2 separate regions of the Homo sapiens genome follow, and region 2 is linked to region 1. Evidence: promoter capture Hi-C in human tissues and cell types (Jung and others, 2019). All regions are on one chromosome and are shown on one strand. The core of a region is centred on a gene start or on the middle of the fragment in contact, and the rest is flanking DNA. Distances in the headings are between cores, read along the strand shown.

Region 1 (5,577 bases), core at 2,287-4,786:
ATTTATTTTAATTTGAATATATATAACTTAGGATCAGGAATTATCTCTTATAAAGTCTTTAACTACTTACTGATGTGTTGAAGTGACAGATAAGGCACTGACCCAAGTAAATAGCAGTACTGAGTATAAGGAAATTATTTTCCACTTCACTCTTTTAGAAATAAATATTATTGGCATTAATACCAGAGAAGTAAACTTTATTTTTTTAGTCCCCCCCAAAACCTATACATTTTTCTCTTTTAATATCTGCCAGTGTTTTCAGTTGCACTAACCCTGCATATAATCCCCTCAGGTGACTTTTCTATCTTATTCTGTTACCTGATTTGTTCTATAGCATGAATCTCTCCACATGAGGAGCAAGGAAAAGTTTTTACAATACAGTCTATGATTTTTCCTATCTTCCTATGTATCTTTTATTTACTCATTTAAACTTATTCAGAAATATTTATTTAGTGTCTCCTATATTCTAGGTACTAGTGACCAAGCACTAGTACTTGCATATGCATATACTAGTACTCTCAATGCATATTTTCCTGTTCATCATCCCAGACCTTCAAGATCAACATTCAGCTTAAACTCGATTCTTTACCTAAAATTCATATTACACTCTTTCACATCTTATTCTTCAGCCCATTTATTTCCACTCCTTTTTAGTCATCATACGATAAGAAGTGCCAACCATGTCTTGTGATACTCCATCATCCTTCACTGACTGGGCTAAACATGCTGCAAATCTGGGACAAAGAAGGGACCAAAAGGTTGCTATCTGCACACATCTATGCAAAAAGTTTAGCATAGTATTGGCAAAATTGCTGAAGCTGTATTCAAAATTCACTGGTAAGATATATGGGGGAAAAAAATCACAGAGAAAGCAGTCCCACCTAGAGTTTGCAAAACTGTAGCATATTGTTGAAGCCAGAGGAGATGTTAAAGTCACAGGACAATAACAAAAAGAGAGGTGGACTTTGCAACTAGAAGATGCTCCATTTTTCCTTTTAAGGAGCCTTAAGTATCTCTATTAAGTATACTTTTTAAGTAACTGATATGGTTTGGCTGTGTCCCCACCCAAATCTCACCTTGAATTGTAATAATCCCCACATGTCAAGGGAGGGGGCCAGGTGGAGGTAACTGAATCATGGATGTGGTTTCCCCCATATTGTTCTCATGGTAGTGAATAAGTCTCATGAGATCTGATGGTTTTATAAATGAGAGTTCCCCTGCACAAGCTCTTTCTTGGCTGCTGCCATGTAAGACGTGCCTTTGCTCCTCCTTTGCCTTCTGCCATGATTGTGAGGCCTTCCCAGCCATGTGGAACTGTAAGTTCATTAAACCTCTTTTTCTTTATAAATTACCCAGTCTTGAGTATGTCTTTATTAGCAGTGTAAGAACAGACTAATACAGTAAATTGGTACCTGGAGTGGGGCACTACTGTAAAGGTACCCAAAAATGTGAAAGTGACTTTGGAATTGGGTAGCAGGCAGAGGCTGGAATAGTTTGGAGGGCTCAGAAGAAGATAGCAAGATGTGGGAAAGTTTGGAACTTCCTAGAGACTTGGAGGGCTCAGATGACAGGAAGGTATGGGAAAGTTTGCAATGTAAGACATGCCTTTGCTCCTCCTTTGCCTTCCACCATGATTGTGAGGCCTCCCCAGTCATGTGGAACTGTGAGTCCATTAAACCTCTTTTTCTTTATAAATTACTCAGTCTTGAGTATGTCTCTATTAGCAGCATAAGAAGAGACTAATATAGTCACAATGGGGTAAACAGGCTTATACTCATTGGGTAGCTTCCCTGGCACAGACAGGCCACAGGAGTAATTAAAAACAAAGGAATTTCCTCCGCCCCCATTCACCAAATTCTAAACAAACTCCTTCACTCTTCTACTCCCTGATTTTTAGAATTAAAGATTTTTTTTTGAAGCATATTCAGGGCAATGTCTTGCACTTAGTTTATGCCTGATAAAGCTGATTTGATTTTTGATCACGAACAATGGCAGAGTGGTGGTGAGTGGGGGCATAGAGAAGGATAGTATTTTTATTTTTTTAATGTGTCTGACTTTTTCCTTGGAAATAAAAACCACATATAATTTATATTATATTTAATCAAGAAAATACTGAATCCATGCAAAATAATGTTTCTGGTGAAGCTGTAAAAATATGTCATATTCCTTAGAAGATAATACCACCTTAAAACCAGGTTAAAAAAGAAATAATTACAAGATGTATTAGTTTTATTTACAACCACTTATCTTCAGGTCAGAAACTTTCTTTATTGTATATTATTAAATTCATAATATAATAATTGGATATTAGTATCTGTTATGTATTTATTTTTATGGTGAAAAATTTCAACTTTACATAATGTTAAAGAAAATAGTATATACTCATCAATAAGATTCAATAATTACAAACTTCGGCATCCTTATTTAGCTGTTTTTTAAAGATATAATCTTGGCAGCTGATGGTCATTGGGCTTGTTTGTGTTTTATTACCACTGAAATACATTTTAATGTAGTGAATATTGATTTTGAATTCCAAGTTCCCATTTGGTGGTTAATGTTTAATTAACATCATTAAAAGTGAAGACCTCAGTATAGATAAACTTCTGTACAAAAAACTTCAAGGAGAACTAAACTTTTTGTTTTACTGTGTAGTGAATATTGCTTTCAATAAGGGGATTTTCCAACTGAAAAATGAAGACATTTAAGTTACATGGAGCTTTTTGAGGACCATCCTAATAAGTACCTGACATTTTTTTATGCACATATGTGCCAAGCATTGTACTAAGAGCTTTACATGCACCCGCTCTTTAAATAACCCTATGAGCTATGCTTATTATCCTCATTTTACAAATTAGGACCCTGAAGCTGTGAAAGATTAACCTACTTAACTGTCTGGAGTCTCTCAATAAATATCAGGCAGGATCTTATTTGCTAAAATTGTATTTTATTTCTATAAGTGATGTTTTGAAAGATATAAAAAAATTTTATGCCTATCATGAATAACCATTAAATGGTGCAATAAACATAACATTGTATACAGTAATTGTTTAAATGAAAGAACTTCTGCATAAACACATAAAAAGACAGATTCCTAATCGGAGATGCAGTTACGACCATGGGAGGTAGTAAGATGTGAACACAGATCCCCAGGAACAACAGGAAAGAAGCAGGGTAGTCCACCAAATAAAAAATATACAGGAATATAAAGGAGATTGATTCAAGTGTCTTGGGTTTCAAGCCCACATTTTGCAGTTTCTGTATATAAGAAATTTTAAAAATATTTCATCTTATTGGCTCTATCCTTTAAAAATAACTTAAAATTTTGGTCTATAAACAATAAAAATAGTGACTTACGTGTCAACAGAAATAAGTTTCTTTTCCCCATGGTCAGAGGCATAATCCCAAGTCGTTTCAATAATTCCAATGTAATAATGCTTTTCTTTCGCCCAGGCTGGGGTACTACATAAAAACAGAAAAATACCAAGTATCAAAATCTTCATTTTTTTCCCCTTCTTGGAGCCTGAGAAGAAATGAAGTAAAATCAGGAGCAGGCAATTTTATAAATAAGACTTTCTTCCTTATTTGCTTGATTGACACAATTTAGTGTTGCACAAGAGTAAATTGTTTCATTAAAGCAAATATTTTCCAATTCAGTTAAGTTCTCGTAAACCACCAAAAAAACAGTTCTTGGTTGCCAGGCTTCTCTGACTGAAAATAAAAAGTCAACAGTTATTGTTGGAGGCATTAGGGTGTGCATAACTCTGTGCCTTTTTCCATTCATTGTGTAAATTCCAGGAGGGCAGAGAACGTGTCTAAATGCTCCCTTTGTTCCTCTGACAATATGTCACAGCACAGTGTCCTGCAAACAGTGCACTTTTAGTAAATCAGGATAAGAATTATGTAAAATGAATCAAAACATGTAGCTTTTTACTACAGTCATTCTTAATGACAGGGATACGTTCTGAGAAATGCATTGTTAGGCTATTTTGTCATTGTGTGACTATCACAGAGTGTACTTACACAGACTTATATGATATAGCCTACTATACATCTAGGTAGGCTATATGGTATACCTATTGCTCCTAGGCTACAAACCTGTACAGTCTATAACTATGCTGAATGCTATAGACAATTGTAACACAATGATATTTCTGTATCTATACATATGCAAACATAGAAAATGTACAGTAAAAATATGTTATTATAATCTTATGGGACCACCATCACATATGCAGTTTGTCATTTACTCAAACATTATTATGTGGTGCATGACTATTTCTAAAAGTCTAACAAATGATTAATTGCAGCTTTATGATATGAAACATGATATCTAGCATGCCAAATTTAAGTAAACAAAAATAAGAATTTAATTTGGAAGAATTTATCTGTTTTATGAGCTTGGACCAAATCTGCATAAAAACTTTACCAGATCATTCTGTATTGCTATATGCAAATAACTAGCAGAGCCTAACAGGGGCTAATAACTTTGTTTTAATCATCAAATAAACAAACCATAACTAAACCTGTCTTCAGAGGCAAAGATTAGTCTTAGTAAATAGAAAGTACCCCAGTTTATCATTAGACTGAAATTTTTCTCTTTGAAGTGGATATGAATTTTAAGGTGGAAGACTTTTTCTTAAAACCCTGTTTTTAGTCAGGAAGTATATGTCTAAAAGTATGAAATGGCTTTTTTTTTTAGCTGAAGAAAATCCTGATAACAGTTGACACTTTGTGTTAGTATAATTTTTTTTCTCTCAAATACCTCAAAACGTTGTGTATTTGCTGAAGGCCACTTGTTGAAATAGATTGGTATAGAAGAAAGCATGCGATATTTGAACAATTCCTTCATTTAGGAAATATTATTGAATGAGCCAAGTTCTGTTCTACTCACTGGGAATACAGCAGTCTGTGCCAAGTTCTGTTCTACTCACTGGGAATACCGCAGAGAACAAAACACCTACCATCATGCAACTTACATTCTACTTGGGGAAACTGAAAATATAAAAATGAAAAATGAAATACACAATATTAGTGGTGAATGCTATGGAGAAAAATAAAGCAGAGAAGGAGAATAAGGAGTGCTAGGGAAAAATCTGATGCTACCAAATGACCTCAAGTAAGATACTTCAGCCCAGCTTCAGTTTCCTCATCTGAAAATCTCAGGTTAATTGAAATGACCTATGTTAAGGCAGACAGTGGAGGAGCTTCTCTCACCAGCTGGTAATAATCTTAACTAAATGGCTTGGTACAGAAAACTGAATCATGTTGCCCAGGATGCCCCAAGGCCTCCTTCTAGGACTGCCTTGAACAATTGTGCCGTCATGTCCACTGAGAGGACTGACGAAGGACTAAAATCTTGCTCAGATGCCACCGGCCATACCCTGTGCCTTGCAAGAAGCTGCTTTTCCCCTAATGGTCCACACAGACGGGGGGCATTTTTCAGCCGTTTATCCTCCCCAGGGCATGGAGAAGGGGGACAGTTCTTTTTCTAATTGGCATGAAGCCACGATGTGAACCAGCAACTGTCTCAGCCATTTGCTTTTCATTTTTCACTCAGTGCTCAAACTCAGCCCCAAT
Region 2 (5,427 bases), core at 2,542-5,041, 240 kb before region 1:
AGTTTTGGCAATTATGAAAAAAGGCTGGTGATACGGTTTGGCTGTGTCCCCACCCAAATCTCATCTTGAATTCTCATGTGTTGTGGGAGGGACCTGGTGGGAGGTAATTGAGTCATGGGGACAGGTTTTTCCCATGCTGTTCTCATGATTGTGAATAAGTCTTACAAGATCTGATGGTTTTAAAAACTGGAGCCTCCCTACAAAAACTCTCTTCTCGACTGCCACCATGTGAGATGTGCCTTTCACCTTTTGCCATCATTGTGAGGCCTGCCCAGCCATGTGGAAGTGTAAGTCCAATAAACCTCTTTCTTTTGTAAATTTCCCAGTCTCGGGTATGTCTTTATCAGCAGTGTGAAAATGGACTAATACAGCTGGTATAAACACTTATGTGCAGGTTTTTGTACGGACATAAATTTTCAACTTCTTTGAGTAAATACCAAAGAGCATGACTGCTAGATCATATGTTAAGAGTAAGAAACTACCAAATTGTCTTCCAATGTGGCTATATCATTTTACATTTCCACCAGCAATAAAGGAGAGTCCCTATTTTTCCACATCCTCATCAGCATCTGGTGTTGTCAGTGCTCCAGATTTTAGCCATTCTAATAGGTATATAGTGGTATCTTGTTGTTGTTTTAATTTGCATTTCTCTGATGACATATGATGTAGAGCAACTTTTCATATGTTTATTTGCTATCTGTATATCTTCTTTGGTGAGGCATCTGTTAAGATGTTTGGCCTATTTCTTCAATTAGGTTGCTTGTTTTCTCATTGTTGGGCTGTAAGAGTTCTTTGTACATTTTTCATACAGTCGTTTATTAGTTATGTCTCTCACAAATATTTCCCAGTCTGTGGTTTGTCTTTTCATTTTCTTGACAGCGTTCTCTGAAGACCAGAAAGTTTTTATTTTAATGGGATCTAGCTTATCAATTCTTCCTTTCATGGATTGCGCCTTTGGTGTTGTATCCAAAAAGTTATCATCAAACCCAAGGTCATCTAGATTTTCTCCCATGTTATTTTTCTAGGAGTTCTATAGTTTTGCATTTTACATTTTTCATTTGTCTGTGATCCATTTTGAATTAATTTTTGGGAAGGGTGTAAGGTCTATGTCTGGATTCTTTTTCTTTTCATGTATGAATGTCCAGTTGTTCCAGCAGCATTTCCTGAAAACAGTATCTTTTCTCTATTGCCTTTGCCCCTTTGTCAAAGATCAGTTGACTATATTTACGTGGGTATATTTTTGAGCGCTCTATTCTGTTTCATTGATCTATGTGTCTGTTTTTGTTTGTTTGTTTTTTGCCAATACCACACTGTCTTGATTTAATAGTAAGTCTTGAAGTCAGTCCTCCAACTTTATTCTCCTTCATATTGAGTTGGCTATTTTGGGTCTTTTGCCTGTCTCTATAAACTTTAGAATCAGTTTGTTGATAGAAAATAACTTAGTGAGATTTTTATTGGGGTTCCATTGAATTTATACATCAAGTTCAGAAAAACTGACATCTTGATAATATTGAGTCTTCTTATCCTCTATAGTTGAATGTTTGTGTTGCCACAGAATTCAAGAGTTCAAATCTTAACCCCCAAAGTGATTGTATTAGGAGATGGGACCTTTTGGGAGGATATTAGGCCATGAGGGATTAGTGCCCTTTATTATAAGATAGTTCCTAGAGAGCTCATTCATCCCTTCCACCATGGAAGAAGACAGCAAGAAGGCAACATCTATGGACCAGGAGACAAGCCGTCACCAAACACTATCTCTGCTAATTCTTTAATCTTCAACTTCCCAGCCTCCAGAACTGTGAGAAATACATTTCTGTTGTTTTTAAGCTACTCAGCTTATCATATTTTGTTATAGCAGCACAGACTGAGATACTATTCATGAACATGGACTATCTCTCCATTTATTTAATTATTCTTTGATATCTTTCATCAAGTTTTCCTCATATAGATCTTGTACATACTTTCTTAGATTTCAACCCAAGTATTTTATTTTTGAAGGTGTTAATGTAAATGGCATTATGTTTTTAATTTCAAATTCTACTTGTTCATTACTGATATATAGGAAAGTGATTGATTTTTATATATTAGCCTTGTATCCTACAACCTTGCTATAATTGCTTATTAGTTCTAGGAGTCATTTTGTCTACTCTTTTGAATTTTCTGTATAATCATGTCATTTTTTAACAAAACCAGTTTTACTTATTCCTTCCCAATCTGCATACTTTTGATTTTATTTTCTCCTCTTGTTGCTAGGACTTTCAGCACAATGTTGAAAGGCAGCATTGAGAGAGAACAGCCTTGCCTTGTTCCTAATCATAGGAGCAAAGCTTCCAATTTGTCACCATTAAGTATGATGTTAGCTGTAGGTTTTTTGTAGATGTTTTTTATTGAGTTGAGGAAGTTCCCCTCTATTCCTAGTCTGTCGCAGGTACCTTATTTTTTTCTTTTACAATATAGTTTGGAGAACATTCTATCATAGACATTAAGAGCAGTCATTATTATTATTGCTTTCTACAGATGCATAGCATAGTATTTTATTGCATGGATATATTATAGTTTATTTAACCTGACCCCTATTAACGGTTATTTAGGTTGTTTGCATATCTTATATTGGCACAAACAGTGCTGCAAATGTCCATCTTCTGGCAAGTGAATAAATACACTGTGATATATGCACACAAAATAATTCTGCTCAGCAATACAAAGGAATGAACCAATGATACGTTCAACAACATGAATAAATCTCAAAAGCATTACACTGAGAAAAAAAAACAGACACAAAAGACTACATACTCTTTTATTACATTTGTATTAAATTCTTGAAAAGGCAAATCTATATGGACAGAAATCAGAGCTACATTTGCCAGGGGACAGGGAATGGGATTAACCATAAAGGCAGAGAGGGAAGTTTTGTGAATGATTGTGGAGATGGTTATACCTGTGGTGATAGTTTATATCTATCACAGCTCATTGAATTTTTTACTTTTAAAAAGTGACTTTTATTGTATATAGATTTTATTTCAATAAAGTTGATTTTAAAGAAAAAGTAACTGCCAAATGATTTAACCCATGAACTAAAAGATCACAAATATGGTAACCAAAGTTTGAAAGGTGAAATATATTTGAAGGACTGAGAGTTAGAGATCCTGGACAATCTTATCCTTCTTTTTGACCACTATCATGTTGTTATTACATTACCGGCAGAACACGTAATAAAAGTAAGATGAAAAGATCAAGCATTCACTGTATTTTTCTTTTTATTTTTTTAGAGACAAGGTTTTTGCTCTGTTGCCCAAGCTGGAGGACAATGGCACTATCATAGCTCACTATAATCTCAAGCTCCTGGGCTCAAAAAAAATCTTCCCAACTAAACCTCTCCCTAGGAATTATAGGCACCCACCATCACACCCTATCACACCCAGCTAATTTTTTATTTTTTGTAGAGACTGGGTCTCGCAGTGTCACCCAGGCTGGTTTCAAGCAATCCTCCTGCCTCAGTCTCCCACAGTGCTGGGATCACAGGCGTGGGCCCCTGGGCCCAGCCCAGGATTTTAACTAATTACAGAAAATTATTCCCGTGTCTGGATCAATAACTATGCCTCTTTAATTTATGAAATATTCATTTTACTAACAAATCACTAGAAAAACCTCCAAAGTCACCGAAATTGAGCTGAATTTCATCTTTCCGTTCTACTCCCACTAGAAACCCTCTTATCATTTAATTATTTACTAATTAACTCCCCATTCCCTCCTACTTCCAAAGGATCTCAAACAACTTCATAAATAAGTGAGGCAAGTATAATAATGGGAAAAAAGTTAAAGCATAGATAAATAAATGCAGGGTAGAGAGCCTAAATAATGACTAGAAGTGGCTACAAATTTTGCTCCAAGTTTCTAATTGGCCTCCCAAAAGAGGAAAACATGTATTCTATGTGTTTGATATACTTATAAACATCAAAGTTTCTATGAAATAAAGAAAAATCTAAGTGTTAAGGAAATGCAACATTTATTTTTGATATGATGACCAGTGTGACAATTTTCCCATGGATCTTTCAATAGAGGAAATTGCATAACATAGTGAATGTCTTCAATGGCACATTGGAAAAGCCATGATAGTGAGATTTCTGAGGCACCCTTAGAGCCACAGAGAAAGCCAAGAACAGAATGCCACTCTAGGAAAGAGAACCTGGTGGCTGGAGGACAAAGGTGGCAGATAAGAGTTACTTCATTGTACACATACCCTTTTGCAGCTTTTGAGCAGTGGACACCCCATACATATTACCAAACAGTGCTTAATTGTACAGACTGGGGAAGCAGGCTCCCTGGTTCAAATCACAGCTGTACAAACTACCAGTTACAGTATAGTGGGCAAGCTCTGTGCCTTATCTCTGAAGTGGGGATTGCAGAATATCTGCCTCATTCGATCACTGGAAAGGTTAAATGTGTTAATATGTAAAAGAACCTTAGTATCAGGTTAAGTGGTAGTTATTACTAATGATAATGCCAAAGTACAGTTTTGTAAAAGTTGTCTTATGAAGGACCAAAGCAATGTTACTCTATGTATAAAGCTCCATGATAATCAGATTTTAGATACCAGCATAAATTTAGAATATCTGACACACATGAAAATCAGTTGTCATGCCCATGGGGTTTATATAGCGAACAGACCCAATTTTGGGTTTTGTTACCTGTTTTAAAAGGCAATGCACAGGCTGGGCACAGTGGCTCACGCCTGTAATCCCAGCACTCTGGGAAGCCAGGGCGGGTGGATCACAAGGTCAGGAGATCGAGACCATCCTGGCTAACAGAGAAACCCCGTCTCTACTAAAAATATAAAAAATTAGCCGGGTGTGGTGGCACACGCCTGTGGTCTCAGCTACTCGGGAGTCTGTGGCAGGAAAATCACTTGAACCCAGGAGGCGGAGGTTGCAGTGAGCTGAGATCATGCCACTGCACTCCAGCCTGGCGACAGAGTGAGACTCCATCTCAAAAAAAAAAAGGCAATGCACTACAAAGCATTATTGGAAGAAACTGAAGACTATCTCGGTAAATAAAAAGACATCCCATGTTCATGGATTAGAAGGCATAAGCTGTAAGGCTGGGCACGGTGGCTCATGCCTGTAATCCCAGCACTTTGAGAGTTCAAGGCAGGTGGATCACCTGAGGTCAGGAGTTCAAGACCAGCCTGGCCAGCATGGTGAAACCCTGTCTCTACTAAAAATACAAAAATTAGCTGGGCATGGTGCCAGGTGCCTGTAATCCCAGCTACTTGGGAAGCTGAGGCAGGGAGAATTACCTGAACCTGGGAGGCAGAGGTTGCAGTGGGCCAAGATCGCGCCACTGCACTCTAGCCTGGGTGACAGAACAAGACTCTGTCTCAAAAAAAAAAAAAAGCAGGTTTAAGCTGTTAAGTTGGCAATACTCCCC

The links. The method cuts DNA at HindIII sites, captures the fragments that hold promoters and counts their contacts. A contact is called where the count stands out against the background at its distance.
Region 2: a contact is called between a fragment that was not itself captured here and the fragment with the promoter of CP in region 1, in 1 of the 25 tissues and cell types used here (spleen).

The regions. Positions count from the first base shown.
Region 1 is chr3:149,218,293-149,223,869 of GRCh38, forward strand. It overlaps CP (ceruloplasmin), which reads right to left and starts at 3,537. Exons shown (of 19, transcript NM_000096.4): 1 at 3,355-3,537. The coding sequence starts at 3,500. The HindIII fragment of the contact is 15,133 bases long and covers 1-5,577 here.
Region 2 is chr3:148,977,207-148,982,633 of GRCh38, forward strand. No RefSeq gene overlaps it. Among named protein-coding and RNA genes, the nearest start is that of GYG1, 12 kb to the right of the region's middle. The HindIII fragment of the contact is 7,031 bases long and covers 277-5,427 here.